3 separate regions of the Homo sapiens genome follow, and regions 2 and 3 are each linked to region 1. Evidence: promoter capture Hi-C in human tissues and cell types (Jung and others, 2019). All regions are on one chromosome and are shown on one strand. The core of a region is centred on a gene start or on the middle of the fragment in contact, and the rest is flanking DNA. Distances in the headings are between cores, read along the strand shown. Region 1 holds the start of GRHL3 (grainyhead like transcription factor 3). Region 2 has its middle 42 kb from the start of LINC02800. Region 3 has its middle 24 kb from the start of LINC02800.

Region 1 (3,480 bases), core at 836-3,335:
AGCAACAGCAGCTCAGAACTTGCAAGCCAAGCGCCGGGTGCCCTCCCCTTACCAGTAGGGGCAGCTGAGCCCCCAGGCTCTGCCACTGTAATCTCAAATGGTGGCTTGGAGTCCGCCTGCAATTACTCAGCAGGCAACTGGCTTCCCTCACCCCACCCCAAACTGAGAAGCCTCAACTGTCAGCGGATCTGACTTCAAATCCAAACCATTAGGGAGGAGAAAAGCAAGAAACCTTTCTGTTCAAGTAACCCAGCTTCAGAACACATACCCCCTAACGTGCAGTAATGAATAGATTCTGTCTGTAGCCTCCGCAGTTTTAGCCAGCAAATTTAAGTGGGATGGAGACACATGTCAAGATTTTTTTGCGCGTTCAAAGTATGGAAAAATAGCAAGAGGTTTGGGAATGCTCATTGATTGGTTAGTTCTACATGAAATGACAATGGTGTTACTGGTGTGTTCTCCACCAGCCTTAAAAGCAATCACTATTCTAAAATTGTCAAATCCTCTAACAACCCCATGAGGTGGATACTACTGTTGGCCACTATTTACAGATGAGGATTAAGGGACTTGCTCAACATCACACAGCTATAAGTGCTAGAGCTGGGACTTGAACCCAGGTGTCAGTACCAATGCTCCTGCTCTTATTCTCATTGCGGTCCAATTGTCAATACATTGTCAACCCCGGGAAATTCATTCAAAAGAAATGTGCCTGTTAACCCAAGTGATTGTGCTGTGAACATGAAGAGCTGAAGGGCTAGCTAGAACATAGAATCCGGTCTGCAGTCAGGACCTAGCACTGCTGTCTGCCCACAGATCTTCAAGTTCTTAAAAGTCTGTTGAGGAGCAGTTAGAAAAAAGATGGTACAATCCTTGCCTCTGCCCACTCACCTCTGAGGGTGGCAGGAAAAGGAGAGCCTGTGTTTAAAGGATTCTGGCTTCTCCTGCCAGCTCCCTGAACCCAATCTAAAGCAGCCCAGATCCCAGCCTCACCCTACCTTCTCTAAGGTCTGGACCCCAAGAAGGACATCATGGTGAAGATCAGCATCAGTCAGTCAGGATCTTAAATCTCAGATGTGGGCAGGAAGGCACATGCATCCTCCCAGCCAAAAGAGGTGACCTACCAAAAATCACTTCTCATCTTCCCCAGCCTTAGAACTGCCTCTGAATGAGAGGAACCACATTTTACTGAACGCATCTTCAGACCATAGCTTTATGCTAAGCATTTTACAGCATTTATCACACTTAACTCTTTCCAGAATTCTACAAAGCATTCTTGTACCCATTTTCCAGATGAGGAAAATGAAGCCCAGAAAAATTGAATGTCTTGTCTGAGATCACCCAGGGACAGAGCCTGGATTTGAACTTAGGTCAAGCCCACTACAAAGAGTACACATGCTTAACCACCACACTGTAACCTTCCCACTTGGGACTGTTCCAACCCAGCAAACAAGTCCCTTTAGAGAAACCCAACTCTCTGCCTAAGACAGCTCTTAGAACTACCTTAAAGAAGTTCCTTTTGGCAAGAAGATAGAAAGCCTCGATGGGATTGGGGTCGTCTGATTTCCAAGGCCCCTTCAGAGGATCAAAAAGTGGTGCCAGAAACCTTCACAGTTTCAGTCTTGTGTTTCCCTGCCTGGCTCGAAACTGCTCAGCAAAGAGAATGAGAAAAACTATTTTCCCAGGGAAACACTCACCTCTAGCTTGAGACTGGGGCTTGCCTTGACACGCCAAAGTAAGATCGTCAGCCCATTCATTTACCCTTACAAATTGCTCTGTGAATCCCGGTGCCGGCCTCCCCGCTCTTCCCCCTCCAGGAAACCCCATCCAGCCTCCACGCTCTGAGAGCGGCAGGTATCCACCGATGTTTACTCACTCAAGTTCATTCGACATCTTCCTGCTCCCAAGCTCCGACGATCAGCACTGAGGCTCTGCTGACCGCTTGTCTCTAATTCTTGCCTGACACAGACATTCTCTGCCCGGGAAAGTGTTTGATTTATGTTGAGGTTTGGGTGTCGAGATTTTGCTGACAGGTAGGTTCCCAGCAGCGCTGGCGCTGATTGGCTACAGGTACAGGTGCCGGCGACTGGAGGTATACCTCAACAGGTGCAGCTGTTAACTCTTAGCCCGCCGAGGAGGGCGGAGCTATGGGGGACTGGCTGGGTGGAGCTGGCCAATTCCTTCCTTGGTGAGGGGGTGGGGGGTGGAGATGAGGGAGGAGGGATGGAGAAGAAAATGTTGGAAAGAAGCAAGATAACTAGAGGAAAAGTACAGGGACAAACAGATAACTTGGCTTAAAGGAAAACTTGATTCCTGTTTCTAGTCATTGTCCCAGATACCCAGAAACATCCCCACCCCCAAATTTCTTTGCCCCCTCCTTCTGTACCACTGGGGAATTCTCAAAGGAGAGAGCAACTTTTCCCAGGTAGATCTTTGTATAAGTTCCCTTTTTTTCAGTTTCCCCTTTAAGGTAATATTTTTGAATAATCTTTTGCAGTTACTCAAGTGACTTCTTTTGGTTCTTAAAGTAACCTACCGTGGTAGATTTATTATCGCTTCCCCCTTCCTCTTCAACACATATTTTACAGATGAGGGAGGAAATGGAGGCCAGAGAGGCAAAGTGCCTTGCCCAAGGGCACAGCTAGCGAGGTCCCAGCCCAGATCCAATCTGCAGTCATCTCACTCCAAGTCTGGCTGCCCCTTGGGCTGAAGTCAGTGGCCTCAATTCAGTAGACATTCATTGAGCACCCGTTGTGTGCCAGACCCTACTCTGGGTTCTGGAGAAACTGAGGCCAGAAAAAACAGGGGTTACTGTTCTAAAGGAGTTTACAATCTGGGGGGTGTGTGTTGGTGGCAGGGGGTGGGGGAGTAAAGGAGAACAGGCTTTTATTGGGTGTGAAGGGGGTGTGGGCAAGCCACATACCTCTGGTCAGCACAGAAGGGATAGAAAAGTTGAAGGCTCCTCTGAAGCCTCAGCCAGCTGGTCATTTCACAGGCTCCAAGTGCTTCGTTCTGTATTGGGAACTTGGGAGAAATTCAATGCCTGTCAGATGAAGTAATTGTGGAGTAATTGCTGTGAGCTGTCTACTATAAAGAACAAGCTTGGTAAACCCCAGAATATCCACAAACACAAACAGGAGAATGTAAGAGCTTTTTAAAGAGCTTCTTCCAGGATTAGTTTGAAATTAAATCTAAGCCAGAGATCTTGGCATCTTTTTTTCCCTCTCTCTCTTTCTATTCTCCCCTCCCCCACCCTTCCCCTTTTGGCAAATTATCTCTTTGCTGTGTCTTCCTGGAAACCTCAACTTGGCCCACTCCTCTCTCTCTTCTCTGGGAACGGCAAGTGAGGTTTCAGCTACCCCTGCCAATTTATGGAGGTTTTTCAGGGTAAAGTCAGAATTCAAAGGAGCCCTCTTGGGGTGGGGTCAGGGCTCTGGAGAGGGGGTACTGGGTTTGAGAACTCTCAGAGATTGGTTTCTCCCT
Region 2 (3,577 bases), core at 484-2,983, 77 kb after region 1:
AGTCTGTAGCGCAGTGGCACGATCTCGGCTCACTGCAAGCTCTGCCTCCTGGGTTCAAACAAGTCTCCTGCCTCAGCCTCCTGAGTAGCTGGGACTACAGGCGCCTGCTACCACGCCCAGCTAATTATTTTTGTATTTTTAGTAGAGATGGGGTTTCACTGTGTTAGCCAGGATGGTCTCGATCTCCTGACCTCGTGATCCACCCGCCTCGGCCTCCCAAAGTGCTGGGATTACAGGCTTGAGCCACCGCGCCTGGCCAAACTGGGCAAAAGATTTGAAGAGACACTTCACCAAATACAATGTTAAGATGGTAAACACATAAAAGATGCTCAACATACAGTTGCGAAAATTAAAAAGAATACAGCTTTTTGTTTGTTTGTTTTTAGACAGGATCTCGCTCCATCACCCAGGCTGGAGGGCAGTGGTGTGAACACGACTCACTGCAGCCTCAACCTCCTGGGCTCAAGCCATCCTCCCCACTTAGCCTGGCTTGAGTAGTAGCTGGGACCACAGGCATACATCACTACACCCAGCTAATTTTTAAATTCTTTTGTAGAAACAAGGTCCCACTATGTTGCCCAGGCTGGTCTTAAACTCCTGGGCTCAAGCAGTCCTCCCACCTCAGCCTCCCAAAGTGCTGGGATTATAGGTGTGAAGCACTGCGCCCAGCCAAAAAGACTGTATCAAGTGTTGCTGAGGATGTGGAACAACCAGAATTCTCAAACACTGTTGGTAGCAACGTAAAATAGTACAACCACTCTGCAAACCAGTTTGGGATTTTCTTTTTTTTTTTCTTTTTATTTTAAGTTTTAGGGTACATGTGCACAATGTGCAAGTTTGTTACATATGTATACATGTGTCATGTTGGTGTGCTGCACCCATTAACTCGTCATTTAACATTAGGTATATCTTCTAATGCTATCTCTCCCCGCTCCCCGCAGGGATTTTCTTAAAAAGCTGAATATACACCAGCTATGTGATCTAGCCATCGCGCTCCTAGGATTTACCCAAGAGAAATGAAAGCTTATGTCCATTCAAAGATTTGTACATGAATATTCAGAGCAAATCTGAATAAGAGGATATTATTTGCCACAGCCCTAAACTGGAAACAATCTAAATGTTCATCAACTGGTGAGTGGATAAACAGATTGTGGTATATTCAGACAATGGAATACTATTCAGCAATAAAAATTAATGAGCCTTTTTTTTTTTTTTTTTGAGACGGAGTCTCGTTCTGTCACCCAGGCTGGAGTGCAATGGTGTGATCTCGGCTCACTGCAACCTCCGCCTCCCAGTTTCAAGCGATTCTCCTGCCTCAGCCTCCTTAGTAGCTGGGATTATAGGCATGCACCACCACACCCAGCTAATTTTTTTGTATTTTTAGTAGAGACAGGATGTCACCATGTTGGTCAGGCTGGTCTCGAACTCCTGACCTCAAGTGATCCGCCCATGTTGGCCTCCCAAAGTGCTGGGATTACAGGGGTGAGCTGTTGCGCCCAGCCGTGAGCTATTTATACATGCAACGACATGGGTGAATCTCAAAATAATTATGTTGAGTGAAAGAAGTCAGATGGAAAAAAAGCACATACTGTATGATTCCACTTCTACAGAATTCTAGGAAATATGAACAGTTAACCAATAGTGACAGAAAGCAGATGAGTAGTTGCCTAAGGATGGAGAGAGCCAGACAGTGAGGGAAGGAGAGGTTCCCAAGGGGCCTTTGGAGCCAATGAATATGTTAATTGTCTTGATTCTGGTGATGGTTTCACAGTGTATACATACGTCAAAATTTATGAAATTGCACACTTCAAATAGGTACAGTTTATTATATGCCAATTATACCCCAAAAGCTGTTAAGAAAAATCACTGTACAAAAATTGAATTGGTAGTAACAGGAAAGACAGTCCAAATATGTTAGGATCGAAATATACTTAAAAAGCACCTTCCAAGATAGCAAATATAATTTTATAAATACGCACAAAAATGTAGTAGAATATTTTATTATTAAAAATGCACACAGGGCTGGGCGCAGTGGCTCACGCGTGTAATCCCAGCACTTTGGGAGGCCAAGGCAGGTGGATCACCTGAGGTCGGGAGTTTGAGACCAGCCTTGCCAACATGGTGAAACCCTGTCTCTACTAAAAATACAAAAATTAGCCAGGCATGGTGGTTCATGCCTGTAATCCCAGCTACTTGGGAGGCTGAGGCAGGAGAATTGCTTGAACCCGGAAGGTGGAGGTTGCAGTGAGCCGAGATCACGCCACTGCACTCCAGCCTGGGCGACAGAGGGTCTCTGTCTCCAAAAAAAAAAAAAAAAAAATGCTCACAGACCCTTCGTCCTGGCAGTCTAACGTTTAGGGAGCCGTCTTACAGGGGGAGAAAGAAACAGAGTGTGGAAGATGAGACTACCATATAAGGATGTGCAGGTTGTTCACTGCACAAGGAAGGACACCACACCGATGGGGCATGTAGGGCTGGAATCCGGCCTACACGCCACTTGCCAAGCTGCGTACTTTGTTACAGGCTGGTGTCTATGGGAGGGGTATTTTTTGCTAATTTGCACAAAGATACTAAACGGGTGATATGGTTTGGCTGTGTCCCCACCCAAATCTCATATTGAGTTGTAGCTCTCATAATCCCCATGTGTCATTGGAGGGAGCCGGTGGGGGGTAATTTAATCACGGGGGCAGTTGCCTTCATGCTCTTCCTGTGATAGTGAGTGAGTTCTCATGAGATCTGATGATTTTATAAGGGGCTTTTCCCCGTTTTGTTTGGCACGTCTCCTTGCTGCTGCCATGTGAAGAAGGACATGATTGCTCCCCTTTCTGCCATGATTGTAAGTTTCCTGAGGCCTCCCAGCCATGCTGAACTGTGAGTCAATCAAACCTCTTCCCCTTATAAATTACCCAGTCTCAGGTATGTCTTTATTAGCAGCATGAGAATAGACTAGTACAATGGGCTACACAGCCCAGTCTTTAAAGACATATATCTCAGGATGATTAGTCCGACATTGTCTGCAATAATCACTGCAACAAATCAGAAATGACCTGAATGCTATCAGTGGAAGAAGGGGTGAATCAAGTCACCCAGCCACGTAATGAAAAAGTATGAAATGATTAACAAGAATGAGGTAGCATCACAAGAGTCGACCTAGAGAGAGGTCCAGGGAGAATGTTAAATGAAAGAAGCATATTGTGAGGTGCTGTGCATTGAGTGGACCCAAGGTTCACTCACACTCCTTGGAAGTCACCCAATAATCCCCTTGATTCTCTGCCTGTGTTTTCCTTTTCCCTCATGTTTCTCCAAACGTCTTCCTTGTTGATGGTTGGAGGTCATTAAACCAGCCTTGGATGACTGTATTAAGGCCTTCAATTAACAGAAGACATAAATCTTATACATAGAGACTATTCTGTATATATAAAATAAGATTGTGGGGCAGTCCCAGTGGCTCACACCTGTAATCCCAAAACTTTGGGAGGCCAAGATGGGAGGATTGCTTGAGCCCAGGAGTTTGAGACCAGCCTGGGCAACAAAGTGAGACCCCGTCTCTACAAAAAATTTTAAAATTAGCCAGATG
Region 3 (3,709 bases), core at 702-3,201, 95 kb after region 1:
GCAAGCACACAAACAATGAAAAAGTAGAGGCGAGTTATGCAAAATTCTATTCCCCAGGAAAAACCACTGGTAATAGTGTATGGTGGCCAGGCATGTGGCTCATGCCTGTAATCCCAGCATTTTGGGAGGCCGAGGTGGGTGGACACTTGAGGCCAGGCATTTGAGGCCTCTATTAAAAATACAAAAATTAGCCAGGTGTGGTGGCACAGACCTGTAATCCCAGCTACTCAGGAGGCTGAGGTATGAGAATCACTTGAACTGGGAGGCAGAGGTTGCTGTGAGCCGAGATGGCGCCACTGCACTCCAGCCTGGGTGACAGAGTGAGACCCCGTCTTAAAAAAAAAAAAGCTTTCCCAGTAGGCTGTTACATGTGTGTGAAGCCATCCTTATAGATAATGGTGAAATTGTTTCGAGTGCTTCCCCGATCCCTCTAGGTCAAGATCTGAACCAGCTGCTCACCCTGGGGAGGGTGGCTTCTGTAGGAATCTTCTGGCCAAAGCCCTCCGCCTCCACAGTTGTTAACAGAGTGGGGACAGCTCCAAGTCCTGTCCTTCGAGATTCCGCCTCTTTTGGGGGCTTCTCACTGATCCCTGCTGTCTTGGGGAGGGGCGCACAGAGCTCCCTTTGGTGGTCTGCTTAAAGCACAGCCTCGGAGCTCTTGCCTTCATTCCCCATAGTGCAGCTGAGCTCCTTTAAACAAGAGGTTGGCCAGGAACGGGGGCTCACACCAGTAATCCCAACCCTTTGGGAGGCTAATGTGGGAGGATCGCTTGAGCCCAGGAGTTTAAGACCAGCCTGGGCAACATAGCGAGACTCTGTCTCTACAAAAAATACAAAAAATATAGCCGGTGTGGTGGCGCGCATCTGTAGTCTTGGCTACTGGGAGGCTGAGGTGAGAGGCTCGCTCGAGCCCAGGAGATCGAGGTTGCAGTGAGCTATAATCACACCACTGTACTCCAGCCTGACTGACAGAGTTGTCTCAAAAAAATAAAAATTTTTATTATAATAAACAAGAAGTCACTAAGTCCCTGGGTGGGGGAAGGGAGATAGGAGGGAAATAAACACAGACGGCAGCACAAGACAAAGTTACCTGTGTCACCTGCCACACCCCTCAGCCTTGGTTCAGCAGCCTCAGGTTCAGCAGCCTCAGCAAGCACTCAGCTCCCTGTCTACCTCCGTGTGCAGGAGGCCACTCTCCATCCCTCAGAACATCCCCCACCAGAACACCCAAGCTCCGCCAGGCCCAGATCACAGTGAGTGAGGCCCAGAAGGATGCAGAGGCCCCTTCCTCTGCCAAAGCCCTGCCTTCCTGACTCAGGACCTGCCAGAGGATCAACTCCCTCTAGCCCCAAGGCGGGGATGGAAACAGCCTGCCATACTCCTCCTCTCGTACCCAGGCCAGATGGCCCTGCTCATCACTGAGCCCACTTACAGCCTGGGAATCCTCAACACAGGCCCCGCTGAATTCACTGGGGTCCTTGGGTTCCATTAACCCTAACTGTCCTCCTTGACTTACGGCCTCAGTAGGACAACCAGCTCAGATGGTAGTCCCATAAACCCAGATAGGAGAGGTATTATTTTTTCCCAAAATTCACCCTTTAAAGACACCAGTTGCCTAACAAAAATGGGATACCAAGGCCCCAGATATGGCCCTTCATTGCTGCTTCCACATTGTGAGAAGGAAACCTCTATGGAAATGCAGGAGAGGAGAGAGTCAGGGAGACCAAGGATATAGTTCAGGGGAATTTGTCCCCAAGTGTAAAGGTCATCCCCAATGAGCCTACGTCAGCCACTGATGGCTTCAGAACAGCCACTTATGACTTCTGTTCTGGGAGATGATCCCATTGGAGCCTCCCGGCAATCTCTGTGGAGTAACTTATGCACAACCTCCAGGGCTTCAGAGCTTGTGCTCTGTCTGGCACCTGTGGACCTGGGTATAAATCCCAGCTCAGCCACTTGCAAGCTGTGTGACCTTGGACAACTCTCACCCTCTCTGAGCCTCAGTTCCCACATTTATAACATTTTCTCAGCTGGGGCCAATTCTGTGCCAGGGGCATCTGGCAATTTTGGTTGTCATGACTGGAAGGTGGAGAATCCTACTGGCATCTGGTGGGCAGAGGTCAGGGATGCTGCTGAATTTCCTACAACACAAGGGACAGCCCCTCAAACAAGTCAACAGTGCCAAGGATTAGAAGCCATGCTCTGTATTAAGAGGATAACAGTACCCATCTCATAGGTTGATTGTAAGATTAAGTGAGAACATGTACCTAAAACATCTGGAATATATGAAGCCCTCAATAAATGAGAAATATTGCCATAGTAGAAACCCCACCAGAACATTAAAAGTGGGGCCCACAAATTCCAATTGTTTCAAATGCAATCTTGCATTAGCTTATGTACAGCCACCTGCGTAGCTAGCTGGTCTTGACTTCTAGGGACCTGGAGCCAAATTGCCAATAGCAGTTTACCAGATTTACATTATCGTGGGGTTTTCTTGAATTTTTGTTATTCCTATTTTATGGCTATGAAGCCCAACTTCCTGGTGGAATTGGTTTGTTTTTTTGTTTGTTTGTTTTGTCTTTTTGGTTGTTTTTGTTGTTGTTTTGAGACAATGTCATGCTCTGTCGCCCAGACTGGAGTACAGTGGTGCAATCATGGCTCACTGCATCCTTGACCTCCTGAGCTCAAACCATCCTCTCACCTCAGCCTCCCGAGTAGCTGCGACTACAGGCGATGCTACCACACCTGGCTAATTTTTGTATATTTTGTGGAGACAGGGTTTTGCCATGTTGCTCAGGCTGGTCTCGAACTCCTGAGCTCGAGCAGTCCTCCCACCTCAGCCTCTCAAAGTGCTGGGATTTCAGGCGTGAGCAACCGTGCCCAACCTGGAATTGTTTCTGTACAAGTACTTCTCCATCTCCCAGGATTTCTTCCTCTCCAACTTGCTTCTTCTAGTCTAAGGTGGGCTTGAAAACCTTAATGAAAGTTGTTTGTAAGCCAAGAGTAACTAGGTTACAAATGAGAGTCAGAGGGTATTTCTAGGAAAGAAGTCATAGGTATTGGCACATGAACTTTATACTTTCGTGTGTTCAGAGGTCTTTTCTGCTTGCTTCCTGGTTCACAGATGAGGCTTCCTGATACTGGGTCTGAAGACTTGAGGTATTATCACCACCTGAATAAATTCTATCTACTTTGGAATGCAGTGTATGATTTTTGTGTGTGTGTGCCTGAAAACTTCCTTAAGTTGGACTTAGAAGAATTTTTTTCAGCAAATATGTATTAGGTGACTACTCTGTTCCAGGCATAGTGAGTGCAGAGAGCCAGCCAAACCAGCATGGGATTCAGACCCGCGTATACAGCTCAGCGCGGTCAACAGTTATTCTTGTTCATTCATTCATTCACTCATTCATTCATTCATAAGAAAAGTTTAGTAAGCACCAATGTGCGCTAAGCACTGTTCAAAGCACTTCACTTAATTAAATCCTCTATCTTAAAAATTACCAAGCAAGGTAGGTCTAATTATCCCCACCTGAATTAGATGAAAAGACTGAGGGTAGGAACGGCGAAATCGCTTATTCAAGATCACACCTCCAGGAAGGGGTAGAGCTGGGCCTCAGCTGTCAACCCTGCTCCTCCCTCTTCCCACTCCCTGCCACCCCCACCCCCACCACAAGGCTTCCGACTCCCCTAAGAAAGGTTTTCTTAATTG

Evidence for each region. The method cuts DNA at HindIII sites, captures the fragments that hold promoters and counts their contacts. A contact is called where the count stands out against the background at its distance.
Region 2: a fragment that was not itself captured here is called in contact with the fragment with the promoter of GRHL3 in region 1 in 2 of the 25 tissues and cell types used here (mesenchymal stem cells and spleen).
Region 3: a contact is called between a fragment that was not itself captured here and the fragment with the promoter of GRHL3 in region 1, in 2 of the 25 tissues and cell types used here (liver and mesenchymal stem cells).

What each region holds. Positions count from the first base shown.
Region 1 is chr1:24,317,962-24,321,441 of GRCh38, reverse strand. GRHL3 (grainyhead like transcription factor 3) reads right to left here and starts at 2,085. Exons shown (of 16, transcript NM_198173.3): 1 at 1,874-2,085. The coding sequence starts at 1,890. The region is part of intron 1 of GRHL3-AS1 (GRHL3 antisense RNA 1); the gene reads left to right. The HindIII fragment of the contact is 14,571 bases long and covers 1-3,480 here.
Region 2 is chr1:24,240,375-24,243,951 of GRCh38, reverse strand. No RefSeq gene overlaps it. Among named protein-coding and RNA genes, the nearest start is that of LINC02800, 42 kb to the right of the region's middle. The HindIII fragment of the contact is 8,376 bases long and covers 1-3,577 here.
Region 3 is chr1:24,222,367-24,226,075 of GRCh38, reverse strand. No RefSeq gene overlaps it. Among named protein-coding and RNA genes, the nearest start is that of LINC02800, 24 kb to the right of the region's middle. The HindIII fragment of the contact is 5,414 bases long and covers 1-3,709 here.